2 separate regions of the Homo sapiens genome follow, and region 2 is linked to region 1. Evidence: promoter capture Hi-C in 16 types of primary human blood cells and fetal thymus (Javierre and others, 2016). All regions are on one chromosome and are shown on one strand. The core of a region is centred on a gene start or on the middle of the fragment in contact, and the rest is flanking DNA. Distances in the headings are between cores, read along the strand shown. Region 1 holds the start of MTMR12 (myotubularin related protein 12). Region 2 holds the start of NADK2 (NAD kinase 2, mitochondrial).

Region 1 (7,219 bases), core at 763-3,262:
GCAGTGGCGCGATCTCGGCTCACTGCAACCTCTGCCTCCTGGGTTCAAGCGATTCTCCTGCCTCAGCCTCCCAAGTAGCTGGGATTACAGGTGCGCACCACCATGCCTGGCTAATTTTAGGGTTTCACCATGTTGGCCAGGCTGGTCTCCAACTTCTGACCTCAGGTGATCCACCCACCTCAGCCGGCCCAAAGTGCTGGGATTACAGGTGTCAGCCACCATGCCCAGCCCAAATATTTCATGTATCCCATTAAATATATACACCTACTATACCCACAAAAATTTTTTAAATGTTTAAATGTTTTAAAAAGACACAAAGAGAAATTGACCACATTGCTTAAATGTGATACCACAAGGGAAGCCCGCTGAAACTTTAAGATGACCCTGACTCCACATCAAGTGCTAACAGAGGAAATGGTTTGTATTTTACAACTAGGACTAAAAATAAGACCCATTTTAAGAGCACTTTCCCCTGGAGAAAACACACATATCTTGAATTTAAAGATACATATGCAAATGCCTCAGGCCCCAGGTGGTCTTTACGGAAGCAGTCCCTGATCAGATCTCTCATCCACAGCCCACGTGCTTCTGCATTACAGAGGTGGGAAGACATCTGCAACAAATTTGGCGGTGCTTCTGCACTTCTGCTGGAGAGAAGGGCAGAAAAAAACCTTTACAGATGCAAAACAAGAAGGCTTCTCATTAGGCATTTGGATTAAGAACTATTGCTCAAGAAGCCCTGAGCAAGGCCTACAAGTTCTGATCTCTCTAACCTCCTCTCCTATGACTGTCCCCCTTGTCCATGGGCCTCTGCCATGCTGGCTTCCTTGACGCTCCGCCAACCCTTCAGACACACTCCCACCTCACGACCTTCCCGGGGGCTGTTCCCTCTACCTGGACGACTCTTCTCTCAGACCTCTCGTATCTTCAAGTCTCGGCTCAAATGCCACCTTTGCGAGGAGGAAAAAGATTTCTTTTCTTTCCCATGATATTTATCACCTCCTACTACACCGTATAATTTACTTAATTATCTATAATTCACCCCGTTTCTCCTTTCCCCCTCAAATAAGCTCCAGGAATGCAGAGATCTCTGTCCTGTTCACTGATGTCTATCACAAGCACTTAGTGCCTGACACACAGTAGGAGCTCGAGAAGTATTTTCTGAATGAATGAACAAATTTCTTGACCTGAAGATTCAGAAGAGTAAGAAGTGGGTGGAAAGGATGATGGTGAGGGGATGAGGAGAAAGAAGCGACAGCGGAGAATTCCCAAGGGAGAGACAAGCAGAGACTGGCTGAGGCCAGGCCGACCCCCTTTTCTCCCCGCAGCGCTGACGGGAGGCGGACGTAGGTGCAGGGCATCCCGCCAGCCGCACCCGAGGCACTCAGACGCAGGCAGCGGAGGCCGGCGGGCTTCTGGGCTCACTGAGAAAGTCCAGAGGCAGGACGGACCCACGCGGGCTCCGAGCAGGCCCCGTTGGGGGCTCCGACCCACGGCCCTACCCCTCCCAGCAGTGCCCACAACCCCAGGTCCTCTCCAGAATCCCCAGGGGCGTTCCGGGCCGCAATCCCTTCTCGGCTCGGGCCCCTCCACCAGCCTCCAGCGCTCGGGCCCTGCGCTCAGGCACCTGCCTGCCTGCGCCGGGGTCCCCATTCCGGCCCGCGCGGAGGCCCCAGCGCGCTCCTGCGGCCTCAGCCCGCCTGGCTGCCCCGTCGCCCGGCACAAGGGCAGGAAGCGCTCCGCGGCGCTCCCCGCTGCAAGGAAGGGGCTCCCGGCGCCCCTCGCCCCGGCCGCCCCTGCCCGACGCCCCGCCTGCGCGGCGCCCCCTCACCTCAGGGCGTACGTACGACACGAAGGAGGGCTTGGGGGCCTTGGTGCCGCCGCCACCGCCGACTACTCCTTTCCCCAGCATACCGCCGCCCTGGGAAGCAGCGACGCGCGGACGCAGAGGCGGCGGCTCGGGCTCCAGCTGGGGCAGCAGCGGCGGCCACCAGCACTAGCGGCTGGGGCTCCGCCCATCCCCAAGGCCGCGACCGCCGCGATGCCGCCCGCATCCGGCTCCGCCGCTGACACCGCTCGCCCCGCCCAGGCCCGTGGGCCCCGCCCATCCCGTGCGCGGGCCCAGAGAGCCGGGAGACCGCAACTGGAGGCCACGCCCCCCCATCACGTCAGGAGAGTTTGACCCGCCGAGATTCACCACCTTCCTGCGGCAGAGCCCGCCCTCATGCTTTCTCTGATTGGCCCGAGGCGCTGCCGGCCGAACCCCGCTCCCAACCCATTCTTGAGTGCACTTGGAGAGATGTTTCCTCCAACCAATCCAGAGAGCGTTCTCTCCGGACTTTCCAACGATTGGATGGCGAGGATAAAACCGTCGTCCAATGATCCTGCAGTCACCAAGTTGTCGTTAGCAGGGGTTCACGGCAGTCGTTTTCTTCCGTTTGCTTGTGTCTTTGGAATAAAACGTCCAAAAATGGGATGTATGGAATCTTGCTATAGGAGTTCCCAACTTACAGCGATGACGTTCAAGGTTTTTTATTTTATTATTATTTACTTTTGAGACGGAGTTTTGCTCTTGTCGCCCAGGCTGGAGTGCAATGGCGCGATCTCTGCTCATTGCAACCTCCGTCTCCCAGGTTCAAGCGATTCTCTTGCCTCAGCCTCCTGAGTAGCTGGGATTACAGGCGCCCGCCACTATATCCAGCTAATTTTGTGTGTGTGTGTGTGTGTGTGTGTGTGTGTCGTTCTGTCGCCCAGGCTTGAGTGCAATGGCGTAGTATAGGCTCACTGCAACCTCTGCCTCCCAGGTTCAAGCGATTCTCCTGCCTCAGCCTCCCGAGTAGCTGGGATTATAGGCGCCTGCCATCACACCCGGCTAATTTTTGTATTTTTAGTAGAGACGGGGTTTCACCATGTTGGCCAGGCTAGTCTCAAACCCCTAACCTCGTGATCCGCCCGCCTCAGCCTCCCAAAGTGTTGGGATTAGAGGCATGAGCCACCGCGCCATGCCGCTAATTTTTGTATTTTTAATGGAGACGGGGGTTTCACCATGTTGGCCAGGCTGGTCTCAAACTCCTGACTTCAGATGATCCACCCGCTTCGGCCTCCCGAAGTGCTGGGATTACAGGCGTGAGCCACCGCGCCCGACCTCAAGGTTTATTATTTTAAATGTAAACAAAAATGAGACAAACGATGACTCACGCCTCTAATCCCAGCACTTTGGGAGGCCGAGGCGGGTGGATCATCTGAAGTCAGGAGTTTGAGACCAGCCTGGCCAACATGGAGAAACCCTATCTCTACTAAAAATACAAAAATTAGCCTGGTGTGGTGGCGGGCGCCTGTAATCCCAGCTACTCGGGAGGCTGAGGCACGAGAATCGCTTGAACCAAGGTTGCAGTGAGCCAGGATCGCGCCACTGCACTCCAGCCTGGGTGGCAGAGCAAGACTGTGTCTCAAACAGAAAAAAAAAAGTGTCAAATCAAGTGTTAACAAGGCAGTGAGGAATAAGTTTGAGCGTTTGATAATAAAAGACTTTGTCAACTTCATTTTTCCAAACCTTTCCCTTCTTTGTGTTTCCAACAGGAAGAATATCAAGAGCCCTTAAGAGACTTCTATTTACTCTACGAAGTTATTGATAAAACCCTCATTTTTTAGTCAAGATTGCAAAGAAAATTCATTTCAGTTCTACATTTGGTGCCAAGCGTTGTTAGTTGCAGATAAATAAGATAGAATCCAGCTCTTAAGAAATTCAATCTAGTGGAAAAAAACATAAATATTTGCAGTTAATTTTTTAGGCGTCAGGCACTGTGCTAAGTACTCTCATTGGTGACCTTGATTTTTACCCTCTTAATCTCCATGTGCTCCCCCTTCCCAAATACACTCCAAGTAAATATAAAATCTTAGTGAAAACAAATGTGCTTGCTTTTGCAAACATAGTTTCAACGCAAGTCCTGCAGCTCCGTTTCCAGCTAGATTGCCACCTGTAAGCCAATATTTGGTATAGCTGTGCTGCAGCCGCCTCTGAGTTTCCTTATCCCAGTTTCCAGGTGACAAAACAGAGATGCAAGTAATTTGCCCAGGTCTCACAACTAGTCACTGAGAGAGCTGGGATTTCAACCCGGGTTTGTCTCATTCGAAATCCCAAGTTCTTAACATTATAATTATACAAATTAGAAAGGAGCACAATGAAAGTGTGGTCAATTCTATTTGGGGAGTCCAAGTTGAGGCCATCCTTACAAGGTTGAGAAGAATTCTGCACAAAAATAGAGTTATAACTAAGCATTAATCAGGCTGCAGTTCGGCCTGCTTCTTTGTATTAATAACTTCAGGTAACACTAGGTACTGACCATTTGCATCCCTGTTGTTTCAATAGGTAGGATTTCTGGCTCTGGAATCATAAGGGTTTTATTTAAGAATTGCTTAGGCAGATCCTACGTTCCAGCAGAACAGCCGACATCAACCAGTTTAAAGACCGCCCCCGCCCCAACACACACACACACACACACACACACACACCCACACACACACAGGAACCGAATCAGTGCGAGAATACAATTTCTTCATCTCTCTGTCTCATGACTTTACCCTGCACTTTTCAACCAATTGATGATCTCCACACTTTGGTCCACTTCAAAACCCTTAAATACCCTAGCCCCAGGCAGGGTGCAGTAGCTCACACCTGTAATCCCAGCACTTTTAAAGGCCAAAGTAGGAGGCTCACTTGAGTTCAGGAGTTCAAGACCAGCCCAGACAATATAGTGAGGCCCTGTCTCTATGAAACATTAAAAAATTAGTCAGGCATGGTGGTGCAAGCCTGTAGTACAAGGTACTCAGGAGGTTGAGGTGGAAAGATTGTTTGAGCCCAGGAGTTTGAGGTTACAGTGAACTGATAGGTCACTGCACTCCAGCCTAGGTGACAAAGCAAAATCCTGTCTCAAAAACCATCCCCCCGCAAAAAAACCCTAGCCCCAAACTCCTTGACTCCTCAGGGAGATGAATTTGAGGTTTCCTCCTGTCTCCTCATCCAGCAGCCCTACAATTAAACCTCTTTCACTGCTGTAACCTGGTGCCTTGGTGTATTGACTTGTCCAGTGCATTGGGCAACAAACCTATTATAGTTACAAAGTAAGGCTTCATAAAAAAAGATATTCTTCATGGGAGTGTTAAAGAATACTTTTCTTTGTCAAGACTAATATCATTATATTTTGCAGCAGTCTTCACTTTTCGAAGTAGAATGGCAGGGCAGATTTTTAGACACTGAGAAAATGTTTCCTTTCTTACTTTTCAAAGTATTTTGAATTTCCATGACCTTTCACCATAGTTGTTAGTAAATGTGACTATGTCCAAGGCTGGCTTCTTTGGACATGAAACTAGTGCAGTCACACAGAATCTCATACTTAAGAAGGCTTGGAGGCCGGGTGCAGTGGGATTACACCTGTAATCTCAGCACTTTGGGAGGTCAAAGCAGGCAGATCACTTGAGTCCAGGAGTTTGAAGCCAGACCGGGCAACATAGGGAGACTCAGTCTCTACAAAAAATACAAAGAATTAGCCTGGCATGGTGGTGTGCACCTGTAGTCCCAATCTCAGCTACTTGGATGGCTGAGGTGGGAGGATCACTTGAGCCCTGGAGGCAGCAGTGACCCATGATTATGCCACTCACTCCAGCCTGGGTGACAGAGCAAGACCCTGTCTCAAAAAAAAAAAAAAAAAAAAAAAAAAGAACGGGGGGCGAGGGACTTAGGGTTTAATCCTTTGTAGTTTCGGTTGCCCAGGCTGGAGTGCAGTGGCCTGATTTCAGCTCACTGCAACCTCTGCCACCTGGGTTCAAGAGATTCTCCTGCCTCAGCCTCCTGAGTAGCTGGGATTACAGGTGCCTGCCACTGTGCCTGGCTAATTTTTGTATTTTTAGTAGAGACGGGATTGCACCATCTCGGCCAGGCTGGTCTTGAACTTCTGACCTCGTGATCCACCCACCTCAGCCTCCCAAAGTGCTGGGATTTCAGGTGTGAGCCACTGCACCTGGCCGGCCTTGAGCTTCTTAGTAATTTTATCTTTGAGTTTGTGTTTTAAGTGAAGGTTAATGGTTGATGAGCAATGGGGCACACACAAGGGGTCTTGGCGCCTCAGCTCATGCACAGCCTCACTTCCCAGCCCTGCCTCTATCCTCCTGGGTGCCTGCTACCCCACTGCACTGTGGTTCTGCCTAGCCAACTCCACACTGCTGCCCACTTCTACCCAGGGCAGCAACCAGGTCTCATTGCCCAGAGGTGTGGGCGGGTGGAATTTCCTGTGCTGCCGTCACCATCCATCCTCCCGGTGGGTGCCTGGGCACTGTCTCACAGAGGATCAGGGTGAGGCACAGCTCCCTGACCCTCTCTGGTGTCTCCGGGTTAAGGCGGCAGCTGTCTCTGCCCTAGGTTGGCAGTGCCTCAGTGACTGGCAGGGGCTTCCGCCCACCCCCATCAAGGTACCAAATATGGCCTGGGTGGCAGAGGCAGCCATCCCTTAGGGCTCACCCATCCACTATGAGAAGGGGAGTTGACTTCCCCACCCCCTGGCCAGAGCCCCACATTCTCATTTTGTGCTTGACCCTGCAAATGATGCAGCCAGCCCAGCCTATTCCCTGTCTTATCTCTGTGTCTTTGGGCAAAGAACTTCCTCTCTCTGTGCCTCTATTTCCTCACCTCAAAATGAGGGTGACAACAACAATAATAACTACTTCACGGTGGTTAGGGGACTGTATTAGGTTCTCTAGAGGGACAGAACTAATGTGATATATATATATATATATATATATATATATATATATACGTGTATATATATAATACACGAGTATTAACTCGTGAGTTAATACTTAGTAATTATATATAAAGGGCGTTTATTAAGTATTAACTCACATGATCACAAGGTTCCACAATAGGCCGTCTTGCAGGCTGAGGAGCAAGGAGAGCCAGTCGGAGCTCCAAAACTGAAGAACTTGGAGTCTGATGTTCGAGGGCAGGAGGCATCCCGCAAGGGAGAAGGATGTACGCTGGGAGGTTAGGCCAGTCTCTCTTTTCACATTTTTCTGCCTGCTTATATGCTAGCTGCGCTGGCAGCTAACTAGATTTCGCCCATCCAGATTAAGGGTGGGTCTGCCTTTCCCAGCCCACTGACTCAAATGTTATCTCCTTTGGTAACACCCCCAAGACACACCCAGGATCAATACTTTGTATTCTTCA
Region 2 (7,052 bases), core at 1,250-3,749, 3.9 Mb after region 1:
ACCAACAAAAACTATTCCACTGCCTGGCAATTACAAAACTGTGTATTCTACAGCCCACGAGTTTTACTTCAAAGCTGGCTTATCCCAAACAGCATTACCTAGCAATAGACAAATATTTACCTATTAGAGATTTCTCCACTCAGAACGGGTACACTTAGGTAGTTTGACTTTTTAAGACTTATTGATTTTCCCTACATTTTAAAAGTTTTTTTATTAAGTGGTAATCTAGTTCAGAGGTCCAAGAGTTAATCCTAACTGAGATGCCACCCATTTTCTTGAGGCCTTGAAAACGTTATCCACAGTTTCAAAATGCCAGTACTGTAAAGGGCCTTGGAGGCTATCTGGTACTACCTCTGCAATTCACATACTGAATTAGGTGAAGCACTTTGAAAACTGACACTACTATACAAAAAGTATCATTTCCACCTATGAGGCCCAGAGAAGAACACACATAGGAAGTTAACCACACAGAACCAGGGCCTAGAACTGAGCTCTTCACTCTTAATCCCACACTCTGAACATGCCAAGTGAGCTATTTTAAATTGTTGTGGGAAGCTTCGATAAAACTGTATGCACATATTTATGCATACATGGCATTTGACAAATCCTACAAGCTAGACTTTGCAAAATTAGTACAACCCAAAGGGCACACCACTTTCCCCAAATAGTAACACTGTGCTTTCTTAGAACATTACTAGTCCCTATCTCACCTCTAGTTTCACTCCCTAATACAAACTCAACTACTCTAACCTCCTGTTCAAACCCTTTATTCTTTAAATGATGCAAGTGTATTCTATAAACAGTCATTTTCAAACACTTAGGAAAAAGAAAACAAATCTACACATCTAGACTCCCATCAGGTGAATGCAGGAGCCCTCTTCAGTAAACCCAACAAAGAAGCAGGATGTTTAATGTTGACAACAGATTCAGCACTTAAGCAAAGATGATTTACAATTTCATTTTGATGCCTCTACAAAATAACTTCGCTAAGATCACACGATACCAGAAGTTTCCAACAGGTTGTCTAGTCTTGCACAGAATTAAACTAAATCAGTTATGTGCAATTAATTCCAAAACCTTTTGGTGCACAGTGCCAACAATTAAGAGATTTCCAATATATTTTTCTGGACATACTGCTCATGGTAGCACCGGGCACTCTCCTTTTCCTAAAGTTGGTGGATGGTGGTATGGGATCAGAAACTGTTTTTAAAGTTGGTGGGGGGGGATGACAACAGGAAGATTCAAACTCTGGTTTTTCCCTTGGATTTGTATCTTTGCAGATATATTAATAAACATATCAAATATGGTATATTGTGGAGATACTGCTGCACAAGAGTCGCAGGCTTTTTTATTTCACACACTACCCAGTATACCAGCCCCTTGTCCTGACATTTCTCCTTAATAACGTACATATACAAGTCAAATTTTCTCCCTTTTCCTTCTTAGCACCAAAGACCTGTGCTTTTAAAACAAGCTCGTAGTGTCCAACGACCACGTTCCAGCAAGGAAAAGGCTCACGCTGAAGGACTTTCCGGAGTGCCCTAGGCCTCGCAGTCCTGCAGAGTAAAAGGGGGTGTGTCCGCGGTTGTTTCGGCCCTTTTCCCCCGGCAGCCCTCAGCGGCGCCCTGGGCCCCCTTTCTCGCGGCGGCCAGGGGAGCTGTTCGCAGGGCGTCCAGACCTCAGGCCACTGGCTCACTTTCTTGGAGTGGGTCCCAACCAGGGAACGAGGGCGGGGGCGGCGAGGGCACCAACGAATCCTCAAACCCCTCACTCTGAGGCCACTCGGCAGCCCCTCTTCGCCCTCCCCGCGGCGCCCCTGCCTCCTAAGTCCCTGCATGAACCACTGTCCCTCTCTCTCCCCCTCTCCCCGGCCCTGCCTCTCCCTCGCACACACGCCCAAAGGCAAAGGAGGCCCAGGGAGAAGCCAGAGGACCTGGGGGCCGCGAGAGAGGCAGGACCGGCATCTGCGGTGCCCTGGGAAGAGTCGTCCCGAGAGGTCCCCCCGAGGGGGCGCAGCCGCCACCAGAGCCCCGGCCGAGCCCGGGAGCGAAGCGGGGCCGAGCCAGGACCCACCAGCTGCTTCAGGTCCTCCTCCGAGAGCTCCGCGTAACGGTACCGCTGCTGCTCGAACTCGTACCGGGTGGTTTTGGCCACCACCACCACCCGGGAGGGGCGGAAGCCGCCGTCCGCGCGGCTGCCACAGCCCGCCAGCTCGCGCGGCTGCCCCTGCCCCAGGTGCCGCCGGCCGCCACCGTCACCGCCCAGCCGGGGCCGCGCGGCGGGGCCTCCCGCACCCGGTCCCCGCAGCGCCGCCGCCCGGCCGCCCGCCACGCGACAACAGCTGCCCAGCAAGAAGCCTCGGTAGCAAGTCATCGTGGGCCGGGCCGCGGCCGCGGGCTTGGGCTCGGGCCCCTTGCCTCAGCTCCCTACCGCCGGGAGTGCGCGCCGTCCGCGCCGCCCGGGCCTCTAACTTCGCGCCGGACGGGCAGAGGTTAAGTGCCAGGACGTGCGTGGCCCACGCGGCTAGGGGGACGTACCCAGGCGTTGACGAAGGCGGGGAAAGCGTGGCGATTGGGAAACGGGAGACCCCACGCGGGAGAAAGGTGGGCGGGGAAGAAATGGAGGCCCCAGCTAGTGGGTTTTGTTTGTTTGTTTATTCGTTTCACTCACGCCTGCATAATGGCTGCTTCGCCGCCCGGGGGCGACCTCCCCGCACCACACGCTTCCCCGAGGTCGCTCTTCTCCCGCCCCCAGGCTAACTCTATCGGCCAATCAGAGCCCGCGGCGGCTCCGGATCCGAGGGGCCGCGCCATTGGCTGCGGCCTGAGAAAGAGGTAGAATTCTGTTAGGCGATTGCGTCGCCCTGAGGAATCCAGCTGGATCCGGTCTGAGGCGGCGCGGGGCCAGCGGGTGGGGTTTTGAGCGGCTGGCGGGAAGGCAGGTTCCTGGCATATGCTCGCTTGGGTTCTGTTCTGCAGGCCGACCACGTGCCCATTGGTTTATTTGACCAGGGTCGGTGTGATAGCTGGTGTGTCTGGGGCCGGGCTGGGGGCTGAGGAGGCGGACCCGGCTCCTGCTGCACCGTGTGCGTGGCTTGGCACGAAATCCTCTCGGCGTGGGACCCAGTGCCCGCCCCGCTGCCCCCTGCCCCCCCGAAGAGCCCTACCTATAGGACAAAGTCCAAATGAATTAGTTCTTTGAAAGCTTTTAACTGGAAAGGAGTGAGTTAAAGCAATGTTTGATGACTATTGATCTGGCTTTGGAATCTTGGGTAGCTTGGGAGGCAAGAAGAGGAGGAAGGGATGCTGTTGGGATAATGACCCGTGGAGTGATCAGGACCTGGGCTGGGGTGTGACGAGAACAGAAGGAAACGTCCCATTGTAAGGGGAGAACCACATGGCAGTGCACATCCTGCTGTTCAATTCCGCAGCTCCTTAGATCCCCTTCCCCTGGCACTGTGTTTGCTCCTTTGTAGTCCTGGCGCTACGTCGCTTCTGGACTTTGGGCAGGTTACCTCATCTTTCTGGGCCTCAGATTCCTCATCTGTAAAAAGGGGGTTAGGGTGACCCCAAGGTTCTACCAAGTCCAAATCGATTCAGTGAATCTATGACTCTCCTCACGGGCCCACCAGCACCAGCGTTCATTCGTGGGTTCCCGCGGTGTGCCTGCTGTGTGCCAGGTAGTGTATTGGACTGGGAGCATACACAATGAAGCCCGATAGGTGTTTACTTGGTAAAGTTCTACCACTGACCCGTTCTCACCAAGAACTTTCCCTCACAGCAGCTGCTAATAGTGACGTGTAGTGTAACAACCTTAATAACCTGAGCTTCTAGAGGTAACATCTATAACTATCCTCAGACTCCTTTGTAGTCTTACTATTTTAAACTTCATTAGCATTAGGAAGGAAAAAAAAAAGGGAGAAATCACAGATGACGCTTAGGTTTGAGGCCAGGGTGAACAGGGGAATGTTAATTGATCCATTCGATAGAGAAAAAAAAATGCGTAGGGAGAAACTGTTTGGGATCAAAGTCTGAGTTTTGTTGCTCATATTTGAAATCTCGGACCTCATTTCTTCCCATTTCACAGATAAAAACCCAGATTTTTGACTCTCATTTCAGCTGCAAACATATACATTGACATCTCAGTTGGAATAGCCCTTTGTCCATAGTTATTTTGCGTCTCATCTTCCACCTCCTCAAAAATAGTGTTTCTGAAGGCATCCTCTCACAGGTATCTTGAATTTTCCCTCCCAAATGAGTTTGCCTCTTCAGTATTTAAATATGCTCATGTCTATGACATCTTTAAAATTTTTCTAAAAAAACAAAACAACCTCTAAGCCTTTGTTTTTACATATTGCCTGCCTTACCTTTACAGCTGATTCTCGAAAGAGTAGTCTGTTCATCATTGCCACATCCCTGCCTCCTAGTCATTCCTCAACCTGTTGTACACTAGCTTCTCCCCACTACTTTGCTAATTACTGCTGTTTCCAAGGTGACCAAAAGATCTTGTTGGAACTCAAAAGACTTTTTTCAGTTCTTTAATTGATTGATCTTTCCAAAGAATTTGAAATGGTTATCATTTCTTCTTGAAATCTTTTACTGTCTCCCAACATACCAGTCCCTAACAGTGTTTCTCCCATCTCTATGTCCCTTTTTGACTTCTTCCTAAACCCATCTCCAAGATGTCTTCTGTCCTCGTCTCCTTGTCTCTTCTTCTCCGTCTTTTTTCCTTCTCTCTCTCTCTCTCTGTCACACACACACGCTCCTGAGTTCATTCAGTGTTGTGTAATGGAAGGATCTTGGTTCAAATCTCAGTTTTATTGTTTATTAGCTTTGTGAAACTTGAACTGGTTGTTTAACCTTCCTGAGACTACTTCTGCATTTATAAAATATAATTGCTACCTTGTAAAATTGTGAATATATGCACAGATGCTTAGCACTGTGCCCATTACACAGTAGACACTTGGCAAATATTAGCCCCTTTCATGACCTCAGCTATTACTGGCATCTTTAGCCCAGATCTTTCTCTTGAATTTCCAATCCTTATCTAGTTTCCTTTTAGATAATGTCTCTTAAATCTTACACATGTAACACACATTCGTGGAGATTAAATTAAATTTGAGTGTCACTGTAGGCCAGGCATCCTGCTAGGTGCTACAGATGAAATGATAAAAAGCTTCCATGCCCTTGAGGAGCCTAAAGTCTATGCAGTGATAGAGTTATACACAGAATGCTGAGAAATTTGGAGGAGCAAGTCTCAAGTCAACCTAACAAGAGTTAGAGAAGGCTTTTTGGGAATGTGAAGAGCTAAGCCTTAAGTAATGAATTCAATATTAGCCATTATCAGCAAGAATGAGAAGGAAATTCCACAGAAGAAACACCATGAACAAATGCATAGAAGCAATGAACTAGCAATTTTGAAATTTTAGAGAATTTAGAGAGAGGCAGGCAACATGGGGAAGTGAGGCTAGAGAGGTAGACAAGGGTAAAGACAATGGAAAATGTTAAATCCATGCTTAGGAACCTGCCTTTTATCCTGCATATATTAGGAGGCAACCAAAAGGAGAAAATGACATGATTAGCTTTGCAAAAATTGTGAATTTTTTTTTTTTTGAGATGGAGTTTCGCTCTGTCGTCCATACTGGAGTGCAGTGGTGCAATCTCAGCTCACTGCAACCTCCGCCTCCCGAGTTCAAGGGATTCTCCTGCCTCAGCCTCCAGAGTAGCTGGGACTACAGGTGCGTGCCACCAGGCCTGGCTAATTTTTTGTATTTTTAGTAGAGACAGGGTTTCACCATCTTAGCCAGAATGGTCTCGATCTCCTGACCTCATGATCCACCCACCTCGGCCTCTCAAAGTGCTGGGATTACAGGTGTGAGCCACTGTGCCCAGGCGTGAGCAGGAATTTTTTAGAAGAAACACAAACAGTGAATAAATACTTGAAAAGATAACCTTATTGGAAATTAGAGAAATACAAATAATGTCATTGTGAAATAATATTTTATATCCACTAGATTGGTAGAAATTAAGAAATCTTGGTAACACTCTGTTAGAAAACTTATCCATATCAAGTCTTGATTAGGCTAAACATTAGCTAATCATTTCAATAATTCTTCCTTCCAGTGCCATAGTTTACAAATATCTTTTTTTTTTTTTTTTCCTGAGACAGGGTCTTACTCTATCCCCTAGGCTGGAGTGCAGTGGCACTGCACCGCATGGCTCACACAGCTGCAACCTCCCAGGCTCAGGCAATCCTCCTACCTCAGCCTCCCAGGTAGCTGGGATTACAGATGCGTGTCACCATGCCCTGCTAATTTTTTTTTTTTTTTGAGATGGAGTCTCGCTCTGTCACCCTGGCTGGAGTGCAGTGGCACCATCTCGACTTACTGCAACCTCCGCCTCCCGGTTTAAGCAATTCTCGCCTCAGCCTCTCGAGTAGCTGGGATTACAGGTGCATGCCACAACGCCTGGCTAATTTTTGTATATTTAGTAGAGACGGGGTTTCACCATCCTGGCCAGGCTGGTCCTGAGAACTCCTGACCTCATGATCCGCCTGCCTCGGCCTCCCAAAGTGCTGGGATTACAGGCGTGAGCCACCACGCCCAGCCACCCTGCTAATTTTTAGAAATTTTTGTAGAAATGGGGTGTTGTGCAATGTTCCCCGGGCTGGTCCTGAACTCCTGGGCTCAGGCAATCCGCCGACCTCACCCTCCCAAACAAAACTGCTGGCATTCATGGATTTTTGAGTTTTAAACTCAGACTCCATCTATGGTGAGGCTGGTGTGCTTTTCTAGTAAATGAGTCTAGCCAACCATGTGATAGCCATATCTCAAGCAAGCTTAACTGTTCTCAACATTTTATGGGGAAAATTATATATCACTGTGGTATTCACAACTTGAAGATTTACAGAGGTTTTAAAATATATCCTTCCCAACCCCCAGAACCCTTCCCACCCCCACTTCATGTTCATTCTGACTCTATGAAAGACATATATACCTCTTTTTATGACATTCAAATACTCTAAGACCTGTATAGCAGGGGTCCACCACCCCC

What was found. Contacts are between HindIII fragments. The CHiCAGO score rates a contact against its expected background, and 5 or more counts as called.
Region 2: the fragment with the promoter of NADK2 here is called in contact with the fragment with the promoter of MTMR12 in region 1 in 1 of 17 cell types (fetal thymus); the score reaches 6.2 in fetal thymus.

Annotation. Positions count from the first base shown.
Region 1 is chr5:32,310,927-32,318,145 of GRCh38, forward strand. It overlaps MTMR12 (myotubularin related protein 12), which reads right to left and starts at 2,013. Exons shown (of 16, transcript NM_001040446.3): 1 at 1,832-2,013. The coding sequence starts at 1,912. RefSeq lists silencers at 1,342-1,481, 1,552-2,341 and an enhancer at 2,432-2,481. The HindIII fragment of the contact is 10,159 bases long and covers 1-7,219 here.
Region 2 is chr5:36,239,426-36,246,477 of GRCh38, forward strand. It overlaps NADK2 (NAD kinase 2, mitochondrial), which reads right to left and starts at 2,500. Exons shown (of 12, transcript NM_001085411.3): 1 at 2,074-2,500. The coding sequence starts at 2,373. It overlaps LOC124900962 (a long non-coding RNA gene), which reads left to right and starts at 2,477. Exons shown (of 3, transcript XR_007058733.1): 1 at 2,477-2,603. RefSeq lists enhancers at 1,405-1,474, 2,825-3,024 and a silencer at 1,565-2,584. The HindIII fragment of the contact is 2,649 bases long and covers 554-3,202 here.